2 separate regions of the Homo sapiens genome follow, and region 2 is linked to region 1. The links are contacts of gene promoters, found by promoter capture Hi-C in human tissues and cell types (Jung and others, 2019). All regions are on one chromosome and are shown on one strand. Each heading gives the region's core, a stretch centred on a gene start or on the middle of the fragment in contact. The rest is flanking DNA. Distances are from core to core; before and after follow the strand shown.

Evidence for each region. The method cuts DNA at HindIII sites, captures the fragments that hold promoters and counts their contacts. A contact is called where the count stands out against the background at its distance.
Region 2: a contact is called between the fragment with the promoter of DDB2 here and a fragment that was not itself captured in region 1, in 1 of the 25 tissues and cell types used here (small bowel).

The regions. Positions count from the first base shown.
Region 1 is chr11:46,877,892-46,880,709 of GRCh38, forward strand. LRP4 (LDL receptor related protein 4) reads right to left here. Exons shown (of 38, transcript NM_002334.4): 21 at 1,235-1,424; 22 at 1,016-1,147. Among named protein-coding and RNA genes, the nearest start is that of LRP4-AS1, 33 kb to the left of the region's middle. The HindIII fragment of the contact is 9,427 bases long and covers 1-2,818 here.
Region 2 is chr11:47,213,248-47,216,272 of GRCh38, forward strand. It overlaps DDB2 (damage specific DNA binding protein 2), which reads left to right and starts at 1,727. Exons shown (of 10, transcript NM_000107.3): 1 at 1,727-2,016. The coding sequence starts at 1,890. RefSeq lists enhancers at 331-1,167, 1,168-2,003, 1,210-1,449, 1,291-2,490, 1,780-2,059 and a silencer at 1,520-1,729. The HindIII fragment of the contact is 25,797 bases long and covers 1-3,025 here.

The DNA of each region.
Region 1 (2,818 bases), core at 264-2,763:
CCTCTTTATTAATATTATGAAAGTGGCTCTCTTTGAAGGACCCTTTACCATGAAGATTAAGAAAGAGAAAAAAAGAAAGGGAATAAAGGGACCCCAGGGGGCTTTACTCACAACCTGAGAGGCACAGTTCACAGCTCCTTTCTCACTCAAATTCCCAGGGAGGTTAGAGTTCAAATGCAGCCTACCCTGCAGCATCTCCTAGGGAGAAGCCTTGACTTCCGACATCTGGGTAGCCAGGTACTGCTTCTGGGACCCTCCAATAAGGTTGTCACATAGGTTGTGCACTCACAAAAGTGGCACATCTAAGGAGGAGGGTACTGTGACATTGTAGATATCATACATTTCTGTTTTTATTATACCAATTTTGGGCAGTTAGAAGTGTCTTTTTTTTTTTTTTTTTTTTTTTGAGACAGAGTCTCACTCTGTCACCCAGGCTGGAGTGCAGTGGCGTGATCTCTGCTCACTGCAACCTTCACCTCCCAGGTTCAAGCAATTCTTCTGCCTTAGCCTCCCAAGTAGCTGGGATTACGCGCCACCATGCCTGGCTAATTTTTGTATTTTCAGTAGAGACGAGGTTTCACCATGTTGGCCAGGTTGGTCTTGAACTCCTGACCTCTAGTGATTTGCCTGCCTTGGCCTCCCAAAGTGCTAGGATTACAGGCATGAGCCACCGTGCCCAGCCAGAAGTGTCTTATTCCAACCAAATCAGTATATTATGACAATGTACTAAGAGATGAGAGGAAAGTGTCTTGAGAAAGGAGCATCTTTATCTAATATGCATGAAGACATCATAAGAACTAGTTGGACCCTGCCTCCAGTCCTTTCTACTTGCTCCCCAGGGCCTCTCCCCAGGCCCGTCCCCTTTTCTAAAAGCCGTGAGTCTCTCCCCTGGGCCTCTAGAAGCAGCAGGACTCATGGTTTCTCAGACCACATTGGAGCCCATCTGCAAGGAAGGAAGAGAGCCATTGCCCCCTCCCAGAGAGGCTGCATCTAGATCTGTGATGCTTTCACTCACCTGGTGAGCAGGTCTTGCCATCAGACAGCAGGTTGATGCCTGTGGGGCAGGTACAGCTGAATCCGCTTGGATTTGGGGACCTAAGACACAGGTGGCTACAGCCGCCATTCTCCATAGCACATGGTGTAGACACTGGGTAGAGAGGAGGGGATGTTCAATGGGGAGAGCTAGGGCATAGGAGGGCCACGGAGAAGCCAATGCGAGCCAAGGGCTGCTCACCTGGGGGCCGGCGGCGGTGGAAGACATGGATGTCCATTAGGTTTTCCAGGTTCTCCTGCAGAGTCTCCCGGTCCAGCCCTGTCAGCCGGTCAGCGCTCTGTATGCTCTTGGTCTGCCAGTCAGTCCAATAGATGCGCTCTCCATAGAGGGTCAGCCCAAATGGGTGGGGGAGCTGGCTTCCAATCAGCACCTGCCAGGGCCCCAACACTGTGTCATCTTCAACAAAGTCTGACAGTACAGAGCAGTGGCAAAGAGCTCACTGTGGACTCAGAAAGCAGCTCTCCCACTAACACCTACTGGGTGACCTCCAGTAAGAGCTACTTATAAAATCTCTCTGAGCCTTGCTCTATCAATCTGTGACTTGATCATGCCTGGCTCTAAGGGTCGTGTGATGGTTTTATTGGAAGATGTTGGAAGTCATCTATTACTCACATCATCTCAAAGTATCTCTGGACAAATTACTTATTAAGTACAAAATTAAAAAATAGCAACTTTACAGTGGACACTACCTTAACCATACAATGGCAGTAAGTATCACAATAACGGAACAGGCCAACACCTGTGTCTACTGATGAGACACACTGAGAACTCAAGGACATGACTTCACTTAGTGTAGTATTCCTGCTGCAAATGCACACTCTGAATCCAATCACAAGGAAACATTAGATAAATCCAAGTTGAGAGACATTATAAAAAATAACTGGCCTTTACTCTTTAAAAATGCAAATGTCCACTTTGGGAGGTCCAGGTGGGCAGATCACCTGAGGTCAGGAGTTCGAGACTAGCCTGGCCAACATGGCGAAACCCTGTCTCTACTAAAAATACAAAAATTAGCTGGGCGTGGTAGCGGGTGCCTATAATCCCAGCTACTTGGGAGGCTGAGGCAGGAGAATTGCTTGAACCCGGGAGACAGAGATTGCAGTGAGCTGAGATCGCACCATTGCACGCCAGTCTGGGCGACAGAGCAAGACTCTTGTCTCAAAACAAAACAAACAAACAAAAAATGCAAATGTCAATAAAGTCACAGAAAAGCTGAGGAAATGTTCCAGATTAGAGAGTAAAGAGACTAGATTAGTTGGGCCCGGTGGCGCACAGCTCCAGCTACTCAGGAGCCTCAGATGGGAGGATCACCTGAGCCCAGGTCAGCATGGGCAACACACCAAGACTGCAGTCTCAAAAAAAAAAAAAAAAAAAGCTATGTGTGGTGGCTCATGCCTATAAACCCAACACTTTGGGAGGTCAAAGCAGGAGGATTGCTTGAGCCTAGGAGTTCAAGACTAGCCTAGACAACAAAGTGAGACCCCCATCTCTACAAAAAATAAAAAAATCAGCCGAGTGGCCTCAAACCCGTAGGCTCCTGAGTAGCTAGGGTGCAGTAGTAGGTGCCTGTGGTCCCAGCTACGTGGGAGGATCCCTTGGGCCAGGAGGTCGCAGTTACAGTGGGCCATGTTTGTGGCACTACACTCCTGCCTGGGCCACGGAGTGAGTGTCTAAAAATAAATAAATAAATAAAAATTAAAAGAGACGTAATTACTAAACACAATGGGTGATCCTGATTGGATCCTAGATTAACAAAGAAAAAAA
Region 2 (3,025 bases), core at 477-2,976, 340 kb after region 1:
CACGCCTATAATCCCAGCATTTTGGGAGGCCGAGGCAGGCAGATCACAAGGTCAGAAGATCGAGACCATCCTGGCCAACATGGTGAAACCCTGTCTCTACTAAAATACAAAAAATTAGTCAGGCGTGGTGGTGTGTGCCTCTAGTCCCAGCTGCTCCGGAGACTGAGGCAGGGGAATCGCTTGAACCCGGGAGGCGGAGATTGCAGTGAGCCGAGATTGTGCCACTGCACTCCGGCCTGGGCAACAGAGTGAGACTCCGTCTCAAAAAAAAAAAAAAAAAAAAAGCAGTGAGGAGGCTGGGCACAGTGGCTCACACCTGTAATCTCAGCACTTTGGCAGACCGAGGTGGATGGATGCCAGGAGTTCTAGACCAGCCTAGGCAACTTAGGGAGACTCTGTCTCTACAAAAAATGCAAAAATTAGCTGAGTGTTGCGGCGCGCACCTGTAGTCCCAGCTACTCGGGAGGCTGAGGTGGGAGGATCGATGTCCAGGAAGTCCAGCCTGCATTGAGCCCACATCCTGCCACTGCACTCCAGCCTGGGTGACAGAGAGAGGCCCTGTCTCAAAAAAAAAAAAAAAAAAAAGAAAGAGAGAAAGAAAGAAAGAAAAAATAAAAACAGCCAACGACCAAACAAATAAAAGAGCAGTGAGAACCAGACACGGTGGCTCATGCCTGTAATCCCAGCACTTTGGGAGGCAGAGGCAGGAGGATCACTTGAGCCCAGGAGGTCCAGACCAACGTGGGAAACATAGCAAGACCTTGTCTCTACAAAAATAAAAATAAAAAAATTAGGCTTGGGGATACAGGTCTGCAAGCCTACTTGGGAGGCTGAGGTGGGAGGATCAGTGAAACTTGAGGTCAAGGCTGCAGTGAGCTGTGATTACATCACTGCACTCCAGCCTGGGTAACGGAAGAGAGACACTGCCTCTAGGAAAAAAAAAAAAAAAAAAAAAAAAAGGCAAGGAGTTCCAATCATTCTCCCTTCACAGAGAAGCAGCTTGGATTCGATGGGACTGTAGTTTCTGGAATCCGACTGCAAAGCTGACCGCTGGTAGAGCCCAGCTTCTAACTTAGGAAAGGCACTAGCTCTCTACAAAGCCGCCACTCCCCAACTACACCCTGTAGGGACCAGCCAATCCCAAAGCCCGAGCGGGCGTCATCACCAATTGCAAGGCGGGAGACAGAGCCTTGGCTGGCACCGGGCCTCCTCCCCGGACCCGCAGAGGCCTGGCAGCGCCGCGTTTGAGGAGGGTTCGTGTCAGGAAGTCAAGGCTGGATGATCGCTTAAGCCCAGGAGTTAAAGACCGGCCCGGACAACAAAGCGAGACCCCGTCTCTCCAGAAAAAGAAAAAAAGAGAGAGAGAGAGAGAAATTAGCCGGGCGTGGTGGCGTACGCTTGTAGTCCCATCTACTTAGGAGGCTGAGGTGGGAGGATCGCTTGAGCCCAGGAGGTGGAGGCTGCACTGAGCTATGATCGCCCCACTGCCCTCCAGAGTGAGCGACAGAGCCAGACCCTGTTGCTAAAAAAAAAAAAAAAATCCATAAAGCCGGGGACCATCTTTGCTCCAGGGAGGTCAGCTGACCCGGGCTGGCACTGGCCCTGGCGCAGTTCCCGCCCCTCCCGGGAGCGCTGGCACCGCCCCTTGGCACCACCCCCTCCCCGCGCCCCCGCCTTCCAGGAAGGGGCGGGGTCTCCGAGACGGGTGGGGCCGGAGCTCCAAGCTGGTTTGAACAAGCCCTGGGCATGTTTGGCGGGAAGTTGGCTTAGCTCGGCTACCTGTGGCCCCGCAGTTTTGTAGTCCCCGCCTTGTTTCTCCCCAGAGGCCTCTCAATCCTCCCTCCATGATCTTCGCATAGAGCACAGTACCCCTTCACACGGAGGACGCGATGGCTCCCAAGAAACGCCCAGAAACCCAGAAGACCTCCGAGATTGTATTACGCCCCAGGAACAAGAGGAGCAGGAGTCCCCTGGAGCTGGAGCCCGAGGCCAAGAAGCTCTGTGCGAAGGGCTCCGGTACTGCCTGTGCCTGCTGCTTGAATATTTCCGCCTTTTAGGGTGCTCGCGCAGGAGGCTGCAGCGGGGGATGGGTGCTCCGAGGCTCCCGAGGCCCGCGCAGGTCACGGGTGCCTCCGGCTGTGCATTCTACCTGCAGGTCCTTTGACACCAGAGTGTTTAGGTTTCAACACCTCTCCCGCTAGGTAACAGGAAGCAGATGAGCTCCGTAACAACAGACACACGGACTTGTCAGATTCCTTGTTCGTATCAGGGTTCTTGCACAGTTAGGACGGCTTCAGAGAATCCTACCTTTCCTGGCGCTGTGTGTGCTGGATTTCATAGTCACGCTTGTTAGCTGCACGTCCTCGGTGGTCAGTTGTGAGAGCCCCCAATTCCTTCCTCCTTAGAAAGCTCATTCTCTGAGGTTTACTGGGGCTTGAACCTGGGGCTATAAGGAGTTTCGAGACACTCAAAAACGAGCTGGGGCTTGTTAATCAAGTGGTTTTTGTCCATGAGAAGAAAGAATTGGTTGTCAAGACGTCGGACCTATAGTGATTGGGTCCTCAAATACAGTTTGGTGATCAGGAGTTGTTGCTTTATTGCTATTCTAATTTCACTTACCTCCCCAGAAGTAACCTAGTTAAGAGCATTTCCAGGCCTTCCTATTCCTTCTTTTCCTAAACGGTGACTTCTGCCATGCTGCCCTAAAATCTTTTTATTGTGCATTATATGTGATTTATAAAATTGTGACCCAGTCCCATCTCGAGTTTTGCAGCCCAAACTGGGAAGAGTTCTGCATTGTACTTTATCCTTGTGTGTTTCTTTGGCTGGGGTCTCAGGAACCCTGCACGACTGTATTTACTTTCACTTCAGACTTACTGTTTGTGGGAGTGTTTTGGGGAAGGGGCCAAATCCTCACTCATTTTTTTATTTCTGGTGCTCGTTGAGACCACACAGACATGGAAAGGCCGCAGGAGGTGATGAGACAGAGATTAACCGTGCCGAATGAAACAAGGCTTCCTTTCGG